5 separate regions of the Homo sapiens genome follow, and all the other regions are linked to region 1. The links are contacts of gene promoters, found by promoter capture Hi-C in blood cells and fetal thymus (Javierre and others, 2016). All regions are on one chromosome and are shown on one strand. The core of a region is centred on a gene start or on the middle of the fragment in contact, and the rest is flanking DNA. Distances in the headings are between cores, read along the strand shown. Region 1 holds the start of TTC39B (tetratricopeptide repeat domain 39B). Region 2 overlaps CCDC171 (coiled-coil domain containing 171). Region 3 overlaps CCDC171 (coiled-coil domain containing 171). Region 4 overlaps CCDC171 (coiled-coil domain containing 171). Region 5 overlaps CCDC171 (coiled-coil domain containing 171).

Region 1 (4,805 bases), core at 2,306-4,805:
TATTATAGTGTGTGTGAGGTGCCATTGTTGAAGGACATACTCATAAACCAGTAAACAAGTGAACGAGAAAGTTCCAGGTAGTGAACAGTGCTATACATACAGCAGGAGGATGTGGTAGAGTGTGACTGAGAGGGAGGGACTGCTTTAGAAGGGGACGTCTTCCTTGAAGAGCTAAGACACGAATGTGAGACAAAGTCACTGACAAACACATGATTTACAATGAGCACTTATTTCATGGATTTGAGCTTCTCCTACCACACAAATCATGAAGATTCAATTTTCACTTAAATCAAGTACCAGCAAAAAACTATCAGCTAAAGGTAACATGTTCAGGAATACTGAAGATTAGATTGTTTACAATATTAGATTTATTTTGAAACACAAACAGCTCCCAGTAGGTGTGGCTTCAAAATGAAATGATTCAGATACCCTCTTGCTTGATCTCTATGCTAATTACTTCTGGGATATGGAATATCTGAGTAATCTCACTTGACTGCTAGAGTATAACATTATCAGCAAACTTGCAAGGGGAATTCTGTGTAAAAACAAATCCATTCTAATTGTTCTTTGAAGAAAAACTTTTATATTTGTGATTCACGATAAAATCACTCTTGTATAGGCAAAGCTGACAGCTGCCCTGAGCAAAGCAAATTTGATTAGACGTTCCAGTGGCTAGAATACATTTATTCATTCAGTGTTTATAATTGAAACATGAATGTTGCTTATCTCCTGCCGTGAATTTAAAACATACGAGACTTCAGGTTTGATCCCTGATATGTAAAAAATTCAACAACAAAAACACCAATCAAGCTTCAATTATAAGTATAGATTTTTGAAAAATTGTACTCGATTTTCATTATAACATAATTCTGTCACTAATTAGAGCGAAGTTTGTTTGGATCTCTTCAAAATTTGAAGAGTTGAAATTCCAAAGGCAGAATAACAGCATATGGGAGAAGAAGCTACCAGTGAGATGGCTTCATGTCAAAAGGATGTGCTATCAATTCAGGAACCAATGAACTTTGAAAAACAGAACCATGCATGAGTAATACAGAGTAGAATCTGGACCTGGATAGGAATTCTAGCCTCAGAAAGTGAAACATAGGAGGAGGTAGGAGTGGGTTGGGGGTCTGGGAAGGAATGGAAACTTTCAAGGGTATTGGAATTAAACAAACTCTATGTCTCTTCTGGTCCATCTGATTCTAAGTGTTCAGAGCATGTGTTCTAAATAATAAAAGTATTATTATTATTATTATTTTTGAGACGGAGTTTCACTCTTTTCACCAGGCTGGAGTGCAATGGCACGATCTCGGCTCACGGCAACCTCCGCCTTCAGGGTTCAAGCAATTCTCCTGCTTCAGTCTCCTCAGTAGCTGGGATTACAGGCGCATACCACCATGCCCAGCTGCTTTTTGTATTTTTAGTAGAGACTGGGTTTCACCATGTTGGTAAGGCTGGTCTCGAACTTCTGACCTCGTGATCCGCTCGCCTCGGTCTCCCAAAGTGTTGGGATTACAGGCATGAGCCACTGCACCTGGAGCTTTTTTATTGAGTACCTGCACTGATGAATAAGATAGTGCCTCCTTCTAAGCAATTTACAGATTAGTGGGAACCCAGGAGGCGGAGGTTGCAGTGAGCCAAGATCGAGCCATTGCACTCCAGCCTGGGAGATGAGAGTGAAACTGTCTCTCAAAAAAAAAAAGTATTATTATTTAGAAATTGGGTCTTGCTATGTTGCTCAGGCTAGTCTCGAACTCCTAAACTCAAGTTAGCCTCCTTCCTCAGTCTCCCAGTGCTGTAATCCCATACAGGCGTGAGCCACCACACCTAGCCTGTGTCAGCTAGTTTTTTTAAAACAGCTTTACTAAGATATAATTTACATAATCATAAGTTCCACCTATTGTAAGTACACAATTCAAGGATTTTTAGACAATTCAGAGAGTTGAGCAACCATCACACGATCTAACCCATTTTTTCAATGTTTCTGCTGTAGAAACCATTTTATTATTCTAGTACAAAAGTACATGCCAAGCCATTAAAATTGTACAGCAAGTATTAAGGATGCAAAGTGACTCACTGAAAATGTATGTAATGGACTTGCACAGACAACTGCTCTACTGACACAGAAAGAAAGAGAGGGAGGGTGGCTAGAGCCAGTACAGTACAAAGCAATGGTTATCAGCTAGGCCCTAGAGTTAGACTGCTGGGGTTCAGATGCTGGCATCCCTACTTACTTAACTGCTGTCTGGCCTCAGGCATATTACTTGAACTCTCTGAGCCTCAGTTTACTCATCTGAAAGAGAACAGCACCCTACTTTATGGGGTTATGAAGAATAAATGAAATACTATATGCAAGAGGTTCAGTAGAGTCCTGGCACATAGTAAGGACTCAAGAACTATTAGCTGTTTTTACAGTTATCACTGGATGACTATTAAATAGCCTTTCATGAGCCAGACATGGAAGACCACATGCTCTAATTAAATTTATATGAAATTCTAGAGAAGGCAAATCGATGTTGATAGCAGATCAGTGATTGACAGAGGCTAGGGAGCGGAGGTAGGAAATTGACAGCAAAGGGTCACAGAAAACTTTTCAGGATGTTCTATATTATGACTGGGATGCTTTGTAAACACTTGTCACTGAATCACACATTTAACTTGGTGCATTTTTCTGTATGTAAAGTAAATCTGACCTCTCTCCCCCAAACTCTTAAAGATCTAGCTTTTAATTTTCCAGTTATTTTACATGTCAGAAGCAAGGTTCAGTTTCTAAACTCAGCCAACAAATATCTGTTGAGCACCTACGATGTGCAAGACACTGTTCTGGGTGTTGGGGATACAGTCTTGAAGAGGACAGATAGCATCCTACCCCCATGGAGTTTATAGTTCAAGCACGAATTATACACCTATGTTTGGAGTTACAAAATACAGGATGCTATGGGGAGAATACACTGTCCGGGTAGGGGGAAGTAGAGGAGTTCCAATATGTATAAATCTCTGTCCCGCGTTTTTTTCTATTTTTTGAACACAGAAGCAAGCAGAGTCCTTCCACCTACAGTCCAGGTGGGTGGTGTGTCAGAGGCCTCTCGGGGACCAGTGACCGTGACCCAAGGCTGCCCTCAGGCCACACCATCTGCGAGATGCGGTGGCCACCTGGCGAGGGAAAAGGACTGGCACCGGACCAAAGACCAGGTGGATGCTTCCACGGACCCCAGGTGGGGCGCTGCTTTGACCTTGGCTTCGTCATGCCCGCGCTCTCTAGCTTCTTTCCAGGTGTGCCCAGCCACCGCAGAGAACAGGCGGCAGGAAAGCTTAGGAAACCCTCCCAGAGGGCGTGCCAGACCGGGAAACTTTATCTGGGAGGTGACTCCACCCACTTGGGCGGGGCTGCCGCCCGCTGGGGGCCGGGCAAGTGGCCCGGCCAGCGGCGCGGCGTCCGGGGAGGAAATGGATGCTGTGCTGGCCTGCCGGCTCCGGGGGCGGGGAAATCGAGTAGCTGCACTCAGGCCCCGCCCGAGACCCGGAGGGAGCGCCGGGCCGTCCCCTTTTGCCCTCCTTTGCGCTGGGCTGAGCCCAGAGCCGAGAGCAGGAGTCGGCTCTGAGTTCCCTGCTTGGTTTTTGGGTGGCAGCAGCCAGAGGAGGAATATGGCGCTCTTAGGCAGCCGAGCGGAGCTGGAAGCGGACGAGGTACGATCCGATGGGGATTGCGGGCCCGGCCCCTGAAGCCCTGGACAGGAGTCCGGGAGAGAAGAGTGAGCCCGGCTAGGACGGCCGAGGCCCCGCCCCCTTGGTCCCCTCTCTGGGGTGGGCTGGCGGGCGCCGGGTGGGGGCGCCCGGCCTTGGTAGGTCTGTCCCCGCTGGAGCTAGGAGGGTCCCTGCGGCGCGCGGAGCGGACGCAGTGCCGAGGTTCGGAGCGCCGGCCCCGCGAGTCGTGGGGATGGAGGACCCACGTCCTGCCAGCACTTGGATGGGCGTGAGGGCGCGGGACCATAGGACCCGCAGCTCTGAGCTGTTCCGGGCCGGCCCAGCGACGCCTGGGCTTTACGAAGTCTGACCCTGAAGTCCTGGCACTGGCTCTCTGGGTGTTCGTGGAATCATCCCTCGACCTGGGAATCTCACCTTCTATGGAAGTTTCCTGGTGGCAGAACCGAAAGGCTTACGATTGATGAAAAGAGGGGGCAGCCTGAGGAACAATGAGTAGAGGGGTACCTGCCGCGACAGCAGGGCAGGGCTGCCAGGGGCTGGGGCTGGAGGGCTAGAGCCGCAGCCCAGGCTGTGGTGCTTCCCTCTCCCTCCACGGGGCCGGGACACTTCCCCTAGCAGGTCCTCAGAGTCGGTGGTGGCCGGAGGGAAACCACTTTGAGAACCGACTCCGGCCTCCTTTGGTTTCAACTGTGTTTGAGTAATTAGCCACTCCTTCAGTCGTGGCGCGCCCGGGCCTGAGCACCCAGGGGCTAGCGCGCCGGACCTGTTGATTTATTGACTATTCATTTCAGCACCTGGCAACTCCAGAGACAGCGCTCTCCCTGCTCTTGAAGTTGAGACCGAGGCTCCAGCAGCAGCCAGCACCCACAGCTGCTGTTCCTGCCATCTTACCTGACTTGAATTGTGCGAGTCGCTGCCTTTAGAAGGCTTTGGTTTCAAATGATGCAATAGTGGACGATCTGGAGGAGGCGGTTAAGTTTCCCGTCCATCTCTTTAGTGCCAGGAATCTCCTGACAAGGAAGACTATACTTTAAATGTGCTCCGTAAAATAAACAAAAAACAAAAACTGAACTACAGCTCCTCTGCATGACAGAGAGACA
Region 2 (5,485 bases), core at 1,132-3,631, 330 kb before region 1:
TTTGTAAAACAGGCATCACAGTATTAAATCACTTAATCGCTAGAGTCATATATTGAAGGGTCATAATTAAGAACTGTCTATAAGCCCTTTACTATTTATCATCCTTGTTCTAATCAAACATGTTAAGAAACAATAATATTATTCAATTAGTCTGACCTTCAATGTTGGCTTTTTAAATGTAAGCATTTATATTTCTAATGTCACTTCTACATGACAGAGTGTATTTACATTAATGTCACTGAGGAGATTATGCCTAGAGTTAAATATTAATATGCTACAGTTTTCAAAGAACTCTCGTGTATGTTCTCATTTGACTTTTAAAATAACATGATATATTTTACATAAGGGGCCTCGTATGATACATAATATTTTAAATCTTAATAAGGCATTCTAATTTGAAGGTGGTGTTTTTTTTTAAGTAGCTCTCCTACTTTCCATGTGGCCAGCACAGTACATTAGAAAAACAACTCAGAGACAAAATTAATGCTGCTTTGTGACTCAGAACACGGGAACTGCCATGTAAAAGAGAAGAGGAAGGAAGTCCAACTGGTCTTGGAAGTGAATTGGTCAGGAAGTCCTATCCACTTTATTGTACCCTCATAGAAGTCCAAACATTTTACATTTATATTCAATCCCATTAAACAAATGTGACTGCATAAAAACAAAAGATTATTAAAAACAAATGAATAGGTTTATAACTTTTCATGATGATCTCATTGATACTTATTTTACTATATAGGTCAACTAAAAAGCAGAATGGAACATTTATAGAGTACCTACTATATGCCAGATGCCATACTAGGTCCTTGGCCCAAAGGCCAAAACGAGTCCTGACACATCTATAAGCATTTCCATTAGGAGTAAGCAAAAGACCTGTGTTGTAGACAAAAATTCATTTGTCGCTAAAGGATATTCCTTCTACTTACTTCTCTGAACTACAATTCATCTGTAACTGTTTTATTAATGGCCAAAACATATTTGTTTTCCAGAATCCCCTAGATTATTTTACATAAACAGGCTCATATAAAGCATAGCAGAACATAGAAAGATTCAGAGTTCTCTGTGCCAGTCATCTTGATCATGATTAACTATGCAGTTCTGAAGGTAGAAAATTCAAAGTTAAAGTCACTGAGGATGGTAACAGAGCCTTAACGGTTTCAGAAGGGATATATGAGGACAATAGGCTGACAATAGAAATAAACTGGAGAACACTGTAATTTTTTTATTCAGCAAGAAATGAAGTATACCACTCAGATTATAAAAGAGTTTAATGAAGAAAAAGTTTTATTACTTCTAGGTATAATCAAAAAACCCACAGATAATAAAAATAAGAAATATCAGGAACAGAATTTGTGGTCGCAAATTCTGATTAACATGATAATAAACTGATTTACCTTCTTTAAAAATTATCTCTACCTTTTCTGGCAAAAAAAACTTGAGTATTTACCAAATTTTTAACTGAAGTTCCAATCTTAAAATTTATTATAAACATAAAATGCTGCATTTAAATGTGTAATACCTATGACTGTATAACACAGGTGATTTCATCATTTACCTATTTTATAGTTAGTAATCTATGCAAATGGACCTTTGAAAATGATTCCTACAAACACATGATGGCTTTAAAAAGATGAATCATACAAGGTGGTCTTTATCAACAATTATGAAAGGTAAAATACAACTTTTCCATTTTCAGTTGAAGATAGTACGCATTTAGAGAAAGATGCTACCTTTTACCCTTTTTTATGTTACTATAATATAGAATATGACTGACAGAAGCAATTCAGAATTTATTTGCAAAGACTGTTCTCTCTCTACCATAATCTTCAGAAGATTCTTCAGTTCTCTCAGAATTAGGTTTGCATCTTCTCTTTTCTCTTTTCTTATTGAGTTAAGCTTATTTCCCATGATAATAAACTCCCCTAGTTGTAAAGAGGTTTATAAAAGCCATGGATATTTCTTTTTCCAGTTTGCTTTTCCCTTGATTCTATGGTATCCAGTACTGCATTTATAAAATTGGATTGGGAGTTTGTTTGTTTTTTTTTAATCTAAGAAAGCATTGATCCATGTTAAGATGATTAAGACACAGTGATATAAAGCTTATAAGATTTTTAAATTCTTTTATATTTATGTTTCATATATATAAAAACTTCTTTGGCTCAGGCACATAAAAAAATCACCTTTCAAGAAATGCAACTGTTAAAAAGCTTCACTAGAATTTAAAACATTCATTAGGCTAAATGTCTATTTTATTAGTTGCTTTAGTTTGATATTGCTGATATTAAATAATGTACTTTATTAAATTAAAATTTTAACAACTTCTTCTTTATTATTATCCCATCTTACCTTAATTCTCTTAAAAATACCACTAACAATTACTTAAGTACCTAGTATTACTGGTAGTGATTGTCTCCGCAATTGAGTGTAAAACTAACATAAAATGCTCTCCAGAAATTTAACTTCTTGTTCATTATGTCACTATGTGGTCAAACAGCCAACATAAAATATACTAACTAATATACAACACATGATATATAATATAAAGCAAAGCTTTTAAAAAGAATCTAAATATGAGAAATCATAGGTAACTTAGAAGACTAAAGCTCTCCACTTGTAAAATTCTTACAAATAGAAGAAAAATAAAGACTATCTAGACTACCTTCAAAGCTTCAAGTTCTCCAAAAGCAGAGACCTGGTATTATCAAAAGTATTTACACAGCAGTAAAGAAAAAAACATAAAGTAAAAATATTGTGGAAGTCAGTGTGGTGATTCCTCAGGGATCTAGAACTAGAAATACCATTTGACCCAGCCATCCCATTACTGGGTATATACCCAAAGGACTATAAATCATGCTGTTATAAAGACACATGCACACGTATGTTTATTGCGGCACTATTCACAATAGCAAAGACTTGGAACCAACCCAAATGTCCAACAAGGATAGACTGGATTAAGAAAATGTGGCACATATACACCATGGAATACTATGCAGCCATAAAAAATGATGAGTTCATGTCCTTTGTAGGGACATGGATGAAATTGGAAATCATCATTCTCAGTAAACTATCGCAAGGACAGAAAACCAAACACCGCATGTTCTCACTCATAGATGGGAACTGAACAATGAGATCACATGGACACAGGAAGGGGAACATCACACTCTGGGGACTGTTGTGGGGTGGGGGGAGGGGGGAGGGATAGCATGAGGAGATACACCTAATGCTAAATGACGAGTTAATGGGTGCAGCACACCAGCATGGCACATGTATACATATGTAACTAACCGGCATATTGTGCACATGTACCCTAAAACTTAAAGTATAATAATAATAATAATAAAATAAACAAAAAAATTTTAAAAAGTAAAAATAAAACCAGTCTATAATAATATTATACCTATAACATCAACCAATAAAAACAGATATTGAGGAAATTAAGTATTTTACAGAAAAAAGTCAATACCGGGTTGTGCACAACCACACCTTAAAGTTTAGGTTTAGATATTTTCTTTTTTGTGTGCATTTTATTACTTTTTCTTTTGTTTTGTTTTTGAGATAGAGTCTTGCTCTGTTGCCCAGGCTGGAGTGCAGTGGCACAATCTCGGCTCAGTGCAGCCTCCACCTCCCAGGTTCAAGTGATTTTGCTGTCTCAGCCTCCAGAGCAGCTAGGATTACAGGCGAGCGCCACCATGCCTGGCTAATTTTTGTATTTTTAATAGAGATGGGGTTTCACCATGTTGGCCAGGCTGGTCTCAAACTCCTGACCTCAAGTGATAGGCCCACCTCAGCCTCCCAAAGTGCTGGGATTACAGGCATGAGCCACCACGCCCAGCCGATATTTTCTTAACTGAGTCAAAACTGCCTTACCAAGAACCCTAAAAACAAAAAAAAATTCGTTATTACATAGTACAGCCTCACAACTATAACACAATTAATAAAATGTTTTTAGTGATGATAGAGTTTTCTAGCATCCTTAAGTGACTTCTAAGTGATCTTTTAAATTCTAATATTCAGAACATTAACTCTATCCTAAACCTTTTTTTTTTTTTTTTTTTTTTGAGGCAGGGTCTCACTTTGTTGCCCAGGCTAGAGTACAGCAGCACGATCACAGCTCACTGCAGGCCCAAACTCCCCAGGCTCAAGTGATCCTCCCACCTCAGCCTCCCAAGCAGCTGGGACTACAGGCACATTTCACCATGTTTGGCTAAGTTTTGTATTTTTTGTAGGGATGATATTTCACCATGTTGCCAAGGCTGGTCTTGAACTCCTGGTCTCAAGTGATCTGCCCACCTCTGTCTCCCAAAGTGCTGGGATTACAGGCATGAGCCACAGCTCCTGGCCCTTAATCCTTTTTTAGTAAGCCATCTACAAACCATAGTATTAAAAATGATGATATAAAATATAATGAATTCCTGAATTTATTGGCCTAAAAAGATGTTCAGCACAAGACAATATGTTAAAATACTATTTCAAATATAATTTCATATTTTTATTCCTTCTGTAATCTTGTAAAAAATAACCCATGTGTGGTTAGAGTATGAGGAAGTTTATCCTTGCCAAGTTCATATTTGGCATTTCTGTTGGTAAGTCCATCTACCTACTCCATACCCAGTTTCCTCCATCGTTAGCATCTTATAGATATATATATATATACATAGTACAAATAATCCATTTTTAAAAAAGAGAAGGGTCTAAGGGTCTAAATAGCTATTTCTCCAAAGAAGATACATGAATGCCTAATAAGCACATAAAATGATATTCAACATCATCAATCATCAGAGAAATGCAAATCAAAACCACAATAAGGTACCATTTCACACCTACTACAGTGGTTGTAATATAAAAGAGTGACAATAACAGCTGTTGGTGAGGATCTAGAGAAACTAGAACCCTTATACCTTGCTGGTGGGAATGTAAAATGCTGCCACTGTACAAAACAAACTGACAGTTCCTCAAAATGTTAACCATATAGTTACCATGTGACCCAGCAATTCCTCTCCTAGATATATCATAAAGACAACTGAAAACATATCCACACAAAAACCTGTACACGAATGTTCATGGTGGCATTATTCATTATGGCTGAAAGAGTGGAAACAACACTGTGATGGTTAATACCGAGTGTCAACTTGATTGGATTAAAGGATGTAATGTTCCTAGGTGTGTCTGTGAGGGTGTTACCAAAGGAAATTAACATTTGAGTCAGTGCAGTGGGAGAGGCAGCCTACCCTCAGTCTGGGTGGGCACCATCTAATCAGCTGCCAGCATGGCTAGAATAAAGCAGGCAGAAGAAAGTGGAATGGGGAGACTTGCTGAGTGTTCCAGCCTTCATCTTTCTCTGTGCTGGATGCTTCCTGCCCTGGAACATCAGACTCCAAGTTCTTCAATTTTTAGACTCTTGGACTTACACTGTGATTTATATATATATACAGTACAAACAATCCATTTTTAAAAAGGACAAGGGTGTAAATAGCTATTTCTCCAA
Region 3 (5,485 bases), core at 807-3,306, 310 kb before region 1:
TAATGTTCACAGCATCTCCACCAGGAGGAGTTTCCATCTCAAGAAACTATTTTCTTTGGTCATCTATAAGAAGCAACTCCTCACCCATTCAAGTTTTATGAATGCATGAGATTGCAGCAATTCAGTCACATCTTCAGGCTCCACTTCTAATTCTAATTATCTTGCTATTTCTAACCTACAGTAACTTATTCCACTGAAGTCTAAACCTGCCCCCACCCCCAAAGTTATCCATAAGGACTGGAACCAACTTCCTCCAAACTCCTGTTAATGATGACATTTGGACCTCCTCACATGAATCACAAATGGTCTTAAGGGCATCTAGAATGGCAAATCCTTTCCAGAAAGTTTTCAATTTAATTTGCCTAGATCCATCAAAGGAGTCACTATCTATGTCAGCTATAGCCTTATGAAATGTATTTCTTAAGTAATAAGACTTGAAAGTCAAAATTCTTCATTGATGCATGTGCTGCAGAATGGATGTTGTGTTAGCAAGGATGAAAACAACATTAACTTGCTGGTACATAACCATCAGCGCTCTTCAGTAACCAAGTGCATTGTTAACAAACAATATTTTGAGAAGAATCTTTTTTTTCTGAGCAGCAGGTACCGTGGGCTTAAATATTCAGTTAAATATTCTGTAAAGAGATGAGCTGTCATCTGGGCTTTGTTGTCCCATTTATAGAGCACAGGCAGAGTATATGTAGCATAATTCTTAAGGGCCCTAGGATTTGGAGAATGGTAAATGAGCAATGGCTTCAACTTAAACTCACCAGCAATATTAGCCCCTAACCAGAGAGTCATCCTGTCCTCTGAAGCATTAAAGCTGGGCACTGACTTCTCCTCTCTAGCTCTGAAACACCTAGATGACACCTTCCAGTAGAAGATTGTTTTGTCTGCAATGAAAATCTGTTGTTTAGTGTGGCCACCTTCATCGATTATTTTAGCTAGATCTTTGGGATTACTTGCTGCAGCTTCTACATAAGCACTTGTTTCACCTTGCATTTTTATATTATGTAGAAGTCTTATTTCCCTAAAAGTCATGAACCAATCTCTCCTAGCCTCCAACTTTTCTTCTCCAAATTCCTCACCTCTCTCAGCCTTCATCAAATTGAAGAGAGTTAGGGTCTTGTTCTAAATTAGGCTTTGACTTAAGGGAATGCTGTGGCTGGTTTGATCTATCCAGACCACTACAACTTTCTCCATGTCAGCAATAAGAATGGCTGGCTCTCTTATCACTTATGTGTTCACTAAAGTAGCACTTTTAATTTCCTTCAAGAACTTTTCCTTTGCATTCACAACTTGGCTGTTCGGCACTAAAGACATAGCGTTTGGCCTGTACTGGTTTTCAACATTCCTTCCTCACTAAGCTTAATCATTTCTAGCTTTTGATTTAAAATGAAACAGGTGTGAGCCTTCCTTTCACTTGAACACTTAGAGGACACTGTAGAGTTAACTGGCCTCATTTCAACATTGTTGTGTCTCAAGGAGTAGGAAGGCCAGACGAGAGGGAGAGTTGGAAGAACGGCTGGACAGAGGAGTAGTGAGAACACATATATTTATAAATTAAGTACATCACCTTATGCAGGCATGGTTCATGGTGCCCCAAAACAATTACAATAGCAGTAACGTAAAGACCACTGGACAGGGCGGGGAGGGGCCACGATGGCCAAATAGAAACAGCGGCAGTCTGCAGCTCCCAGCGAGACCAACGCAGAAGGTGGGTGATTTCTGCATTTCCAACTGAGGTACACAGTTCATCTCACTGGGACTGGTTAGGCACTGGGTGCAACCCACGGAGAGCAAGCAGAAGCAGGGTGGGGCGTCACTTCACCCTGGAAGTGCAAGGAGCTAGGGCAACTCCCTCCCCCAGCCAGCCAGGGGAAGTGGGGAGGGACTGTGCTACCCGCCCTGAGTACTACGCTTTTCCCATGGATTTTTGCAATCCGCAGATCAGGAGATTCCCTCGTGACCCTATGCCACCAGGGCCCTGTGTTTCAAGCACAAAACTGGGCGGCTGTTTGGGCAGACACCAAGCTGCAGGAGTTTTTTCGTATGCCAGTGGCACCTGGAACTCCAGTGAGAAAGGACAACCGTCCACTCCTCTGGAAAGGGAGCTGAAGCCAGGAACCCAAGAAGTCTAGCTCAGCAGGTCCCACTCCCACGGAGCCTAGCAAGCTAAGAACCACTGGCTTGAAATTCTCACTGCCAGCACAGCAGTCTGGAGTCGACCTGGGATGATCGAGCTTGGTGGGGGAAGCAGCGACCGCCATTACTGAGGCTTTCGTAGGTGGTTTTCTCCTGATAGTGCTAAGGAGACTGGGAGGTTTGGACTGGGCACAGTCACCACAGCAAAGCAAAGTGGCTGTGGCCAGACTGCTTCTCTGGATTCCTCCTCACTGGGCAGGGCATCTCTGCAGGATATGCAGCAGTTCAGTCAGGAGCTTACAGATAAAACTCTCATCCTGGTAGGACAGAGCACCTGGGGGAAGGGGCGGCTGCAGTCGCAGCTTCAGTGGACTTAAATCTTTCCTACCTGTCAGCTCTGAAGACAGCGGCTGATCCTGACAAGGGGGATTCTCCCAGCACAGCGCACCCGCACTCCTAAGGACAGACTGCCTCCTCAAGTGGGTCCCTGACCCCCCTGCCTCCTGACTGGGAGAGACCTCCCAATAGGGATCGACAGACACCTCATATAAGAGAGCTCCAGCTGGCATCAGGCTGCTGCCCCTCTGGGACAAAGCTTCCGGAGGAAGGAGCAGGCAGCAATCTTTGCTGTTCTCCAGCCTCCACTAGTGATACCCAGGCAAACAGGGCCTACAAACTGCAGCAGACCTGCAGAAGTCCAGCAAACTGCAGCAGACCATCAGAAGAGGGGCCTGTTAGAAGAAAAACTAACAAACAGAAAGGAACAACATCAACATCAACATCAAGAACCCCCCCCACAGGCCGGGCGTGGTGGCTCACGCCTGTAATCCCAGCACTTTTGGAGGCCGAGGCGGGTGGATCAGGAGGTCAGGACATCAAGACTATCCTGGCTAACATGGTGAAACCCCGTCTCTACTAAAAATACAAAAAATTAGCCGGGTGTGGTGGCGTGCACCTGTAGTCCCAGCTACTTGGGAGGCTGAGGCAGGAGAATGGCATGAACCCAGGAGGCGGAGCTTGCAGTGAGCCGAGATCACGCCACTGCATTCCAGCCTGGGTGACAGCGCAAGACTCCATCTCAAAAAAAAAAAAAAACCCTCCCACAAAAAGCCCATCCAAAGGTCATCAGCCTCAAAGATCAAAGGTAGATAAATCCACAAAGATAAGGAAAAGTCAGCACAAAAATGCTGAAAATTCCAAAAGCCAGAATAACTTTTCTCCTCCGAATGATCGCAACACCTCTCCAGCAAGGGCACAAAACTGAACAGAGAATGAGATTGAGCAATTGGCAGAAGTAGGCTTCAGAAGGTGGAACAAACTCCTCTGAGCTAAAGGAGCATGTTCTAACACAATGCAAAGAAGCTAAGAACGTTGATAAAAGGTTATTACAGGAACTGCTAACTAGAATAACCAGTATAGAGAGGAACATAAATTCCATGTGACATGCCTGCTCCCCCTTTGCCTTCCACCATTATTGTAAGCTTCCTGAGGCCTCCCCAGAAGCCGAGCAGATGTTAGCACCATGCTTCCTGTAAAGCATACAGAATGATGAGCCAATTAATTAAATCTCTTTCCTTTATAAATTACCCAGTCTCAAGTATTTCTTCATAGCAATGTGAGAATGGCCAAATACAAATAGTATTATGAACAACCTTATGTAATCTCATTTTTTCATAAGAGTACTTTCATATATGAAAGCACTTTTAAGAACATTATGCACTATACTACCTAAGTATAAAAGACTATTATTCTATATGATAGGTCCTCCTCCTTCAATCACTCAATAGCCCCAGTATTAATTCAGTCACTGTTAAATTATATGCCTTCTTAAATTACAAATACATAATCTCCAACTTTCAGTCATTGACTTACATACTTGTCTACTTTAAAGTAAATAAATAGCAATTTACATGGTTAACCATAAACCAAATAATTTGAAATAATAACAAAATGGAGTCTATAACAAAAAGATGCTTATATCCTAGTTGATCGAAACTATTTTATATAGTATTTTATATAGTAAAATAAATAAAATAGTAAAATAAATTATTTAGGAAGTCTCATGAGATTTATTTATAAAAGAAAATCATAGGCCAGGCATAGTGGCTCACTCCTGTAATCCCAGCACTTTGAGGCCAAGGTGGGTAGATCCCTTGAACTCAAGAGTTCAAGACCACACTGGGCAACATGGCAAAACATCATCCCTAAAAAATAAACAGAAATGGCTGGGCGTGGTGGCTCACACCTGTAATCCCAGCACTTTGGGAGGCCAAAGGGGGCAGATCACTTGAGATCAGGAGTTCGAGACCAACCTGGCCAACATGGTGGAAACTTGTCTCTACTAAAAGTACAAAAAATTAGCCAGGTGTGGTGGCACACACCTGTAATCCCAGCTATTCGGGAGGCTGAGGCAAGAGAATCGCTTGAACCCAGGAGGTGGAGGTTACAGTGAGCCAAGATCACACAACTGCACTCCAGCCTGGGCGACAGAGCGAGACTCCATCTCAAAATAATAAATAAATAAACAAAAATTAGCTGGCGTTGTGGCGCATGCCTGTGGTCCCAGTACTTGGAGGGCTGAGGTGGGAGGATCACTTGTGCCTAGGAGGCAGAGGCTGCAGCAAGCTGAGATCATGCCACTGCACTCCAGCCTGGGTGACAGAGTGAGACCCTGTCTGAAGAAAAAAAAAAAAAAAATCACACGTGATTCCCATTTTACTGACAAATCATGTAGAAACACAACACATAATCACTTAAATCCCATTGCAATAAACAAAGAGTATGCCCACTATTCCACCAAGTTTAAATTTAATCCTTTTTTAAAAAAAAGAACCTGGAAAATCAAAGGCCAATCAGTTAGAGCTTATGATGTTTATTTTGGTGATATATTACTATATTACTGCTATGATAGTTGATCTATATTTAATATTACTTGCCAAATGGCTTTTATTTAAGAGTATTTCAAGATTTAGATAAAATTCTGACCTAACAATCACATTTTCAATGCAGAGGTCTGGTAGTCACTTAATATTATATGATAATTTCTATTGTATTCTTGGATATGAATATAAATACACACACAGATATAGACACATACAAACACACAAACATGTTTTCACGGAAAAAGATGTTTTCCTAAAATAGTAGAGATGTTTAGGAATTCTACTCAAGAGTAGAGATACTTAGAAATTCTATATGAAGAAAAGTTATATTACATTAATTAACTGACTACATTGAGTTAGAATTATATTGATTGATTTTCTAATGTTAAACCCGCCTGACATTAATTGTATAAAGTCTTTTATATTTTATCTTTTTAAAATCTTGCTACATTTGGTTA
Region 4 (5,485 bases), core at 2,202-4,701, 280 kb before region 1:
TCACAATTTTAGGAGAAGTTAAATATGTTACATATCATGTTTATACAAAACATGCTCTACATAGATAATGAAGCTCATATCAAACATACAAATATTTTTCTATATTTATTGTATATTCAGACCAAAATCCAGGGCCCATATTTCTAAAATTCCAAATGTTCATATTGCTAGACAAAAAGAGCTGTAGATTCTTAGCTTCTTACAATATGCCCATATAAGTGCTTTGTTGGCTTTTAACATTTTGATTAGCGACCGCAAACCGTTTTTCACCCCAAAAAGTATACCTATTAATATACTCCAAAAGAGACCAGCAAATATGCCCCTAAAAAAGAAAAAATGGGAGGGAGGAAGGAAGGAGGAAGGAAAAAGGAAGGAAGGAAATCCAGGATAACTTCAAGTAATGTACAACACATCTCGGTGAATATTACATATCGGAAAATTCCTTTATAAAAACTATTTTACCTGTAGAGTTTTCTCTAGTCTGCTTTTTTCTTTCATAAGTAAATCATATTCTCGATTGCAATTTTGGATCATATTGTCTCTTTCCTCCAAATCATGTTCAAATCTTCTGCATTCTTCTTTCCATTTTTGCTGAGAAGTCTGAAATGCTTTCTCAGTCTCATTTGTCTTTGCTTGAAGTTCTGAATTCTGTGCTATTAAGAATAGAATAATAGGTACATTTACAACCATGAATTAAATAACAAGGAGCCCCAAAACCTAGGCATTGGAGTTGACATCATTTACAGCATGATCTTAGGATAAAACATTTAACCTTTCCATTACAGTAAACTCTTGAAAACCTTTCCATTCCGGTAAATTCTTGAAAAGCTCACAGTCTCTAAATCAATCTATTCTATAATTTTCGATCTCTTCTTCCCCTTCAGACAATGATGATTTTGCTATGAAACAGTGTGACATATTTCTGAAGGCATATCCAAGTTTAGGTGCACTTCTAGCACCAGCTGCAACTCTATTGGTTTTTGTCCTATTCAAGAAAACAAACCAGCTGAGTGTGGTGGTACACACCTGTAATCCCAGCTACTCTGGAGGCTGAGGCGGGAGGATCACTTGAGCCTAGGAGTTCAAGACCAGCCTGAACAACATAGGGAGACCTCCTCTCAGATTTAAAAGAAAGAAAAAGAAAGAGAGAAAGAAAGAAAGAAAAAAGAAAGAAAGAAAGAAGAAGAAAGAAAGAAAGAAAGAAAGAAAGAAAGAAAGAAAGAAAGAAAGAAAGAAAGAAAGAAAGAGAAAGAAAGAAAGAAGAAAAAAATCTATTTTTAAGACTGTGATATATAGGGCAAGTTTTTAAAAAGAGTAGATTACAAATTTTTATATTTGACTATTGACAACAAACTAGTTGTAACACATCTTACACAAGGGTCACAAAGCTGAGGCTGGAAACCACTACCCCAACCCTTAGAACTGTAACTATTTACTTTGCCAGATTTAGGTGCAACTCACCTCCTACCCGATTACCTCAACAATAACCAACACCTATCAACACACTAACACTGCTGCTCTGTTTCAGCACCTAGAAAAGAAGGAAATGCTTCCAGGTCTGGCTCCATCACCTGCCACTTATTAAACCTCCCTGATTCTCTGATTCTCACTAGAAATAAGAATGTCCCTAGTTAAGTTTTTGTGAAGATAAAATGAGGAAATGTTTATAAAAACACATGTTAAAAGATGCCACAGCTATATTAGCAGTATTTCTAAATTATATTTCTTTGCATTTTGAATCAATCATACATTCAAAATGTTCAAAATACAAAGGTATAAAAGGTACAAAAGGAAATACATTAAAAGTCCCCCTCCCATTCAGCTGCCATCTCCAGAAGACATTCTTCCATGGTCTCTCATCCAGCATTGCAGGAAAGTAGTTTGAGGCCATTTTGACTCCTGATCCTTTGCATTTGACCTATTTTTCTTTTCTCGTGAAAGCTTTAGAATCTTCTCTGTCTTTATTTTTCTGAAATTTCATAATGCTATGCCTGCAGTAGGTCTACTTCTTTCCATAACGGTAAATATTCAATAGACTCTTTCAATCTGGTAATTCATGTCCTTTAGTTCTGAGATGTTATCTTGAGTTATTTTCATTGATGATTTATCATACATTTCTGTTTTCTCTCTTACGTCTTTCACTATTCCCTATTATTCAAATTGGTCCTCAAATTTTTTCATCTCTTCTCTCCTATTTTTCTACCTCTGTCTTTTTAATTCTAATTTCTGGGAGGTTTCTTCCATCTTCATCTTCCAGTGCTTCTAGGGACATTTTTCATTTCTGCCTTCATATTTTTAATTTGTTAATTTTTTCAAGCCAAACTGTATCCAACTTTATTAATTATATTTTTCACAAACAATAATGGTATTGTAGGCAGGTATTTCAATTAACAGTATACAACTTTCAAACCCTCTTCTTCAAAGGACTACCAAAATCAGAAAGCCACTATAAACCCAATGAAGTCCTCATTTGATGTTCTCAACAGAGAGTTTAGAGTGGGGGTTGACATTTCACATTAACATGTTGTTTAACAACTTTTCACAAGCAGACTCTGACTTTTAGGAAGTGAAATGAAAATGGCAGGATTTATCTAAAGATCTACAATCTAGAAACAGAAGGGCTGCTATTTTGAGGAGTGCCATCTCAGTGGTGTCATTGGAAAGTCCAGATTGCCTGATACACTGGCAACCAATTACTGGGAGTCAATCCCAAGAGATGTCTGGGCTTAAGGGAGTTAAGTCTATGCTGAGGATGGAAGGGAGAAGAGGACATAAAAACAAATTTGTTTTTCCACACCACAAGGTGTTTGTGCCAAGGTGGCTATGTGTGTCAATATCAGGGAATCTCTCCTCCTGGAAGCCAAGAAGAAGTCTCTCAAAACTAGAAGGGAAACGTGTTTTCCCCCCATCAATCCACTTCAGAGACATTCTAGTAGTAACACATGTCCCTTCCTCAAAAAACAACGACGTTTTCTGTGGGGCAACAACATAGCTCTAAAAAAAAAACACGGCTGGGTGCGGTGGCTCACGCCTGTAATCCAAGCCCTTTGGGAGGCCGAGGCAGGCGGATCACAAGGTCAGGACATCGAGACCATCCTGGCTAACACGGTGAAACCCCATCTCTACCAAAACAAATACAAAAAATTAGCCGGGCGTGGTGGCGGGCACCTGTAGTCCCAGCTACTCAGGAGGCTGAGGCAGAAGAATGACGTGAACCCGGGAGGTGGAGCTTGCAGTGAGCCGAGGTCGTGCCACTGCACTCCAGCCTGGGTGACAGAGTGAGACTCCGTCTCATAAAAAAAAAAAAAAAAAAAAAAAGTCTGCATCTTCATAAAACTTGGTTGAAAAATATTTCAAACTGTATAGTCACCAAAAGTGCACAGTTATCAAAAATGCACACATTTCACTTGGCGTCTCCAGCACGCTGAGCTTCCTGTGCCTGGTCTGTTTTGGCATCTCCATTTCCTGCAGGATTCTTCCCCTCCTTGTAAGCATCAGCTTTTCCCTTTGGGTACCTTTTCTCCCTTCTTTGCAGGGGCAAAGAAGGCTTTTTGGGCTTGCGCTCTGGCTTTGAAGGAGCAGGTTTAGCAGACAACCTTGCAGATCTTCTCTGTAGCTTGGCTTTATCTCCTGTAGCATCCCCTTCAGGCTTTCTCTTGGGCATGGTGGTAATGCTGCTAAGACGTAGCACCAGATGCAGGGATGCAATGGCGTGTGGGCTTTGGTCAGTCCGGGGGTCCTTCTTGCCTCTTCTTCCCACTGCTTCCATATTTTTAAATTCTTTGAGACAGAGTCTCACTCTCTCACCCAGGCTGGAGTACAGTGGCGCAATCTCGGCTCACTGCAACCTCTGCCGCCCAGGTTCAAGTGATTCTCCCACCTCAGCCTCCCGAGTAGCTGGGATTACAGGCACTTGCCACCACGCCTGGCTAATTTTTGTATTTTTAGTAGAGACAGGGTTTCACCATATCAGTCAGGCTGGTCTTGAACTTCTGACCTCATGATCCACCTGCCTCGGCCTCCCAAAGTGCTGCGATTACAGGCGTGAGCCACCGCGCCTGGCCTCATATTTTTAATTTCTAATAGATTTCATCTTTTATAACACCTGGTTCTTACTTCATAGATGAAATATATTCTTTCAGATCTGAGGAAATTAATGCTACTTCTTTTAAATGTTCTCCCTGCAGAGCCTCTGTTTCTTCTAAGTTGATTTCTTCTCTCCATTTTAAAGGGTTTCCTCATATATCTGGTAACTCTTGGTTGTCTACTCTCATTAAAAGTTAGAAACTATAAATGTAATACAGTTTATACACTAATATACCCACCACCTAGAATCTGAGCTTCAAGGTGGACGTTAACAACTTTAGTCTTCGCTGGAGAAGGATCTGGATGGCTCATTTATTGGGAAACCTCCAACATCAGTATCATTAGGTTCTTCCTCCTGGCTTTGTATTCGTCTGTTTTTTTGGATAAAGACATACCTGAGACTGGGCAATTTACAAAAGAAAGAGGTTTATTGGACTTACAGTTTCACATGGCTGGGGAAGCCTCACAATCATGGCAGAAGGCAAGGAGAAGCAAGTCATATCTTACATGCATGGCAGCAGGCAAAAGGAGAGCTTGTGTAGAGAAACTCCCATTTTTAAAACCATCAGATCTCGTGAGACCCATATCACAAGAACAGCATGGGAAAGACCCACCCCAATGATGCAATCATCTCCCACTGGGTCCCTCCCATAACACATGGGAATTATGACAGCTACAAGATGAGATTTGGGAGGGGACACAGAGCCAAACTATATCAGCTTGGTCAGGTGATACACAAAAGAGTCCTCCAACATCCGGCATAGAGTGTAGAAATCCAGGTGTTAGCTTTTGGGGAAGTCAATATATAAAGGAAGCTGGGGGCTGAGCATGGTGGCTCACACGTGTAATCCCAGCATTTTGGGAGGCCAAGCTTGGAGGATTGATTGTGGCCAAGGGTTTGACACCAGCCTGGTCAACATGGCAAGACCTAGTCTCTACAAAAAAAAATTTTTTTTAATTAGTCACGTGTGGTGGCATACACCTATAGTCCTAACTACTCAGGAGGCTGAGGTGGGAGGATGGCTTAAGCCCAGGAGTTCAAGGCTGCACTGAGCTATGACCACACCACTGCCCTCCAGCCTGGGCAACAAAGTGATACTCTGTCTCTAAAAGTAATAATAATAATTAATTAATTAATTAAAGGGAAGCTGGAAGGAATGGCTCCTCAATATTCAGCATTCAGAATCTTCCTGGTTTTGCCAGTCAAAAGACTCTATTTCGCCATCTCCAGGGATTAAACCTCCTGACTTCCACTAGCAATTCTTAAGTAATCCCAGAGTAGCATGCTCTTGGAAGGAAATCTAAGGACCTATCTGCCTCTCAAACAGCTTTCATCTAACCCTACTTATTTTACTCACTACTGCTACTCCCATACATAATTCCAATGGTATCTGGTGCT
Region 5 (5,485 bases), core at 2,182-4,681, 260 kb before region 1:
GACCAGCCTGGCCAACATAGTGAAATCCTGCCTCTACTAAAAATATAAAAAATTAGCTGGATGTGGTGGCTCATGCTTGTAATCCCAGCTACTTGGGAGGCAAAGGCAGGAGAATCCTTGAACCCAGGAAGCAGAGGTTGCAGTGAGCAGAGATCACACCTTTGAACTCCACCCTGGGCAACAAGAGCAAAACTCCATCTCAAAAAAAAGAAAAGAAAAAGAAAAGTAATCAAAAACACAAACTAAGAAAACGAAAAACTAAACAAATAAAAATAAAAGAAAAATCTCCCAGAAAATAAAGCAAAAAAAGAGATGGAGATGAAAAATAGAAATTTTTTTTTTGTTTGTTTGTTTTTTGTTTTTTGTTTTTTTTTGAGACGGAGTCTCGCTCTGTCGCCCAGGCTGGAGTGCAGTGGCACGATCTCGGCTCACTGCAAGCTCCGCCTCCCGGGTTCACGCCATTCTCCTGCCTCAGCCTCCCGAGCAGCTGGGACTACAGGCGCCCGCCACCACGCCCGGCTAATTTTTTGCATTTTTAGTAGAGACGGGGTTTCACCGTGTTAGCCAGGATGGTCTCGATCTCCTGACCTCGTGATCCGCCCGCCTCGGCCTCCCAAAGTGCTGGGATTACAGGCGCGAGCCACCGCGCCCGGCCGAAAAATAGAAAATTTTTTAAATTAGAAGACTGTCCAAGAAGTTCAAAATCTAAAAAAAGGTGCAGAATGAAAAACAATAAATTTATAACATTAAATAGTCTTGTTATTTTGTAAGCATTGTTCTAAGCATTTTACATATATAAACTTATTTATTCTTCACAATAATCTCATGAGATTGGTACTTTTATGACCCCCTATTACCCAAGTTCACAGGGCTAGTGAGGGAGAGGCAGAGCTGAAATTCAAACCCTGAAACCCTGGCTCCATGATATATCCTCTTAACCACTGCACTACAATGTCTCTCTGAATGGGAGGAAACTATTACAGAAACAAATCCATGGAAATAGGCGGATTCCGAAGGATATAAGTTTCAAACCGAAAAGGCCTATTAAAAGAGCCCAGGTTAAATGCATGGAAATTTCAGAAAACAAGGAACAAAAAAGTAGTTCCTCCAAAGTCTAGAGAGAAATAAATAGGTTTTATACAAAAGACTAACAAATATGTTTGACTATAAAAATCCCTGAAAGACAACCTAGGCAATACCATCCTGGACACAGGAATGGGCAAAGATGTCATGACGAAGATGCCTAAAGCAATCACAACAAAAGCAAAAATTGACCAATGGGATCTAATTAAACTTAAGAGCTTCTTCGTGGCAAAAGAAACTATCAACAGTTTAAACAGCCTAGAGAATGGGAAAAAAAATTTGCAAATTATACATCTGACAAAGGTCTAATATCCAGCATCTATAAGCAACTTAAACAAATTTACAAGAAAAAAAAACATTAAAAAGTGGGCAAAGGACATAAAAAGACAATTTTCAAGAGAAGACATACATGCAGCCAACAAGCATATGAAACAAAGCTCAGTATCAGTGATCATTAGAGAAACGCAAATCAAAACCACAATGAGATACCATCTCACACCAGTCAGAATGGCCATTATCAAAAAGTCAAAAAATAAGGCTGGGTGCGGTGGCTCACGCCTGTAATCCCAGCACTTTGGGAGGCCAAGGCGGGTGGATCACGAGGTCAGGAGATCGAGACCATCCTGGCTAACACGGTGAAACCCCATCTCTACTAAAAATACAAAAAATTCTCCAGGCGTGGTGGCGGGCACCTGTAGTCCCAGCTACTCCGGAGGCTGAGGCAGGAGAATGGCCTAAGCCCGGGAGGCGGAGCTTGCAGCGAGCCAAGATCGCGCCACTGCACTCCAGCCTGGGCAACAGAGCAAGACTCCGCCTCAAAAAAAAAAAAAAAAAAAAAGATGTATTGGAGATGTAGATGGTGCAATCATGCAATGTAAAAGAAATAAAAGGCATGCATACTGGAAAAGAAGAAGTAAAACTGTCTTTAATTACAAAGGACATGATTCTGAAAGAAAATTCTAGAAATCCACTAAGAAAAAACAGACTAGAACTAAAATCAATTTCAGCAAGGTCACAGAATACAAGATCAATAAACAAAAATCAATTATACTTCTATATCCTAGTAATGAACAATCCAAAAACAAAATTAAGAAAACAATTCCATTTATAACAGCATCAAAAAGAATAAAATAAATTTAACAAAAGAAATGCAAGGCCAGGGATGGTGGCTCATGCCTGATGCCAGCACTTTGGGAAGCCAAGGCAGGAGGATCACTTGAGGCCAGGAGTTCAAGACCAGCCTGAGAAACATAGCAAGATCTTGTCTCTACAAAAATAAAAAAAATTGGCCAGCCATGGTGGTACATGCCTGTAGTCCTAGCTACTAAGGAGGCTGAGGCAGGAGGGTCACTTGAGCTCAGGAGTTGAGGCCACAGTGAGCTAAGATCATGCCACTGTACTCTAGCCTGGGCAACAGAGCAAGACCTTGTCTCAAAAAAAAAAAATAGTGAAAGATTTTTACACTGAAAAATACAAAATGTTGTTCAAAGGAGTTGAAAAGCTAAACAAGTGGAAAGACATTCCACCATACTCACATTCATGTAAGGAAAACTCAATATTATTAAAATGGCAATTCTCCCCAAATTATTCTACATATTCAATATAATCCCTATTAAAACCCCAACAGACATTTTTGCAGAAACTGAAAAGCTGATCCTAAAATTCATATGGAAAGACAAAGAATTCAAAATAGCCAAAACAATCTTGAAGAACAAATGGGAAAACTTTTGATTCCTAATTTCAAAACTTACTATAAAGCTACAGTAATCAAGACAATGTGATATTGGATTAAGAACAGACATGTACGCCTGTAATCCCAGCACTGTGGGAGGCTGAGGCCGGTGGATCACAAGGTCAGGAGTTCAAGACCAGCCTGCCCAAGATTGTGAAACCCCGTCTCTACTAAAAATACAAAAATTAGCTGGGCACAGTAGCAGGTGCCTGTAATCCCAGCTACTCGGGAGGTTGAGGCAGGAGAATCACCTGAACCCGGGGGACAGAGGTTGCAGTGAGATCACGCCACTGCACTCCAGCCTTGACAACACAGTGAGACTCTGCCTCAAAAAAAAAAAAAAAAAGGACATGTAGATCAATATATCAGAGTTAAGACTCTAGAAATAAACCTATACTTAAATAGTTAAGTAATTTTCAACAGAAGTATCAAGGCAATTCAACGGGGAAATGTTACTCTTATCAACAACGCTGCTGGAACAACTGGCTACGCACATGCAAAGAGACAAATTTAGACCCTTACCTCGTACAAAAAGTAACTTAAAATAGAGCACTAAATATAAGAGCTAAAATTATAAAACTTCTAGAAGAAAACATAGAAGAAAAATCTTCATGACCTTAGGTTAGTCAGAGATTTCTTATATACAAAACCAAAAGCACAACTCCTATAGGAAAAGAACTGATAAACTGGACTTCATCAAAGTTAAAAACTTGTGCATTTCCAAAGACACTATTAAGAAAACAAAAAGTCAAGCCACTAAACAGGAGAAAAATGTTTGCATATCATATATCTTATTTTTTGTTGTTGTTGTTGTTGAGACAAAGTCTCGCTCTGTCACCCTGGCTCAAGTACAGTGGCATGATCTAGGCTCACTGCAATCTCCGCCTCCCAGCTTCAAACAATTCTCATGCCTCAGCCTCTGGAGTAGCTGGGACCACACAGGCACACCACCACGCCTGGCTAATTTTTGTATTTTTTTGTAGAGATGGGGTTTCGCCATATTGGCCAGGCTGGTCTCGAACTCCTGGGCTCAAGCAATCCACCCACCTCAGCCTCCCAAAGTGCTGGGATTACAGGCATGAGTTACTGCACCAGGCCAGCAAATCATGTATCTGATAAAGGACTTGCATTCCAAATATACAAACACTCCTAAAGCTCAATAACATAAAAAAAAAAAACACAATTTAAAAATAAACAGATCTGAAGAGACATTTCACCAATGAAGATACATGAATTACCAAAAAGCACATGCAAAGATGTTCAACATCGTTAATCATTAGGAAAATTCAAATTATAACCACAATAACATATAACTTCACACTCACCAAAATGGCTAAATTGAAATAGATAAAAACCAGTATTGGTCAGGTTATAGAGAAATTAAAACCCTCAATTATTGCTAGTGATAATATAAAATGACCCAGCCACTTCAGAACACAATTTGGCAGTTTCTTGAAAATTTTAACATAAATTTACTATATGATACAGCATTGCTGCTCCTAAGAATCTACCTAAGGGAAACAAAAACATATGTCAACACAAAGACATATGCAAACATGCACAGCAGCATTATTCATAGTACCCAAAAAGTGGAAACAACTCAAATGTCTGTCAACTGGCAGATGGGCATAATGTGGCATATCCATACAATGGAATACAATCAGCAATAAAAAGAAACGAAGGGCTGCTACGTGTTACAACTTTACAAAACTCAGGAATATGCCCTGTAAAAGAAGCCACAAAAGACCATCTATTATGTGATTCCATTCACATGAATTGTTCAAAAAAGGCAAATCTATAGAAACAGAAAGTAGATTAGTAGCAGATTTTAAATAACTGTATCCAGATTCTCTAATTATAAAAAGTAATTCAGCCATTAAAAATGATGACAAGCCGGAGCAATGGTGCGTGCCTACAGTTCCAGCTACTTGGGAGGCTGATGCAGGAGGATTGCCTGAGGCCAGGAGTTCTCAGACAGCCTGGGCAACATAACAAGACCCCACTTCAGAAAAATTTAAAAACTTTGATACATTGATGTGGTAAGAAGTTTCCCCAAAATTGAAAAAGCAGGATACTAAATAAGGTGAAATATTCTAATTTGTAAATACATATTTAAAATTAGCCAGGCGTGGCAGCAGGCGCCTATAATCCCAGCTACTTAGGAGGCTGAGGCAGGGGAATCACTTGAACTCGGGAGGCGGAGGTTGCAGGGAACCAAGATCATGCCACTGCACTCCAATCTGGGCGACAGAGCAAGATTCTGTCTCAAAAAAAAAAAAAAAAAAAAGTGGGGGGTGGGTAGCTTCAAAAGCTAAGTGGAAAACAAATTTACGGGTAAATTACATGTTAGTCTTGGTACTTGTCCCACCCACACATCCTTGCTGAAAAGGCAGTCTAGATCAGTCCTTCTCAAACTAAATATGAGGAAGGACTATCTTCACCCCATCCATGATGATTTTGTAAAATACATTTAATGCATTATTTTTAAAGAAATTTTAAAAACAGACAGAATACAACCCCAAATGTTTTACTCTTAGATTCAGCAGACAGAATATTACTCTGTTACATGACTATAAAAGTTTCTAAACATTTACTTTTAATTTCAGTACTTATTTCTTTGTAAAGCACACTTAGGAGAGAGTGGCACTGCCCTATGTGGTCCAGTTTTGT

Evidence for each region. Contacts are between HindIII fragments. The CHiCAGO score rates a contact against its expected background, and 5 or more counts as called.
Region 2: a fragment that was not itself captured here is called in contact with the fragment with the promoter of TTC39B in region 1 in 2 of 17 cell types (fetal thymus and total CD4 T cells); the score reaches 7.1 in fetal thymus.
Region 3: a fragment that was not itself captured here is called in contact with the fragment with the promoter of TTC39B in region 1 in 2 of 17 cell types (naive B cells and fetal thymus); the score reaches 6.4 in naive B cells.
Region 4: a contact is called between a fragment that was not itself captured here and the fragment with the promoter of TTC39B in region 1, in 2 of 17 cell types (fetal thymus and total CD8 T cells). The highest score is 5.8, in fetal thymus.
Region 5: a fragment that was not itself captured here is called in contact with the fragment with the promoter of TTC39B in region 1 in 6 of 17 cell types (naive CD4 T cells, monocytes, naive CD8 T cells and 3 more); the score reaches 7.4 in naive CD4 T cells.

What each region holds. Positions count from the first base shown.
Region 1 is chr9:15,305,966-15,310,770 of GRCh38, reverse strand. It overlaps TTC39B (tetratricopeptide repeat domain 39B), which reads left to right and starts at 3,555. Exons shown (of 20, transcript NM_152574.3): 1 at 3,555-3,687. The coding sequence starts at 3,646. RefSeq lists silencers at 3,301-3,640, 3,671-3,990 and enhancers at 3,228-3,790, 4,354-4,805. The HindIII fragment of the contact is 2,405 bases long and covers 3,314-4,805 here.
Region 2 is chr9:15,635,323-15,640,807 of GRCh38, reverse strand. The region is part of intron 7 of CCDC171 (coiled-coil domain containing 171); the gene reads right to left. Among named protein-coding and RNA genes, the nearest start is that of CCDC171, 85 kb to the right of the region's middle. The HindIII fragment of the contact is 343 bases long and covers 2,210-2,552 here.
Region 3 is chr9:15,615,135-15,620,619 of GRCh38, reverse strand. All of the region lies in intron 6 of CCDC171 (coiled-coil domain containing 171), which reads right to left. Among named protein-coding and RNA genes, the nearest start is that of CCDC171, 65 kb to the right of the region's middle. RefSeq lists an enhancer at 1,644-2,143. The HindIII fragment of the contact is 1,373 bases long and covers 1,370-2,742 here.
Region 4 is chr9:15,586,534-15,592,018 of GRCh38, reverse strand. It overlaps CCDC171 (coiled-coil domain containing 171), which reads right to left. Exons shown (of 26, transcript NM_173550.4): 5 at 463-653. It also overlaps the pseudogene HMGN2P16. Among named protein-coding and RNA genes, the nearest start is that of CCDC171, 36 kb to the right of the region's middle. The HindIII fragment of the contact is 3,016 bases long and covers 1,944-4,959 here.
Region 5 is chr9:15,564,704-15,570,188 of GRCh38, reverse strand. All of the region lies in intron 2 of CCDC171 (coiled-coil domain containing 171), which reads right to left. Among named protein-coding and RNA genes, the nearest start is that of CCDC171, 14 kb to the right of the region's middle. The HindIII fragment of the contact is 8,095 bases long and covers 1-5,485 here.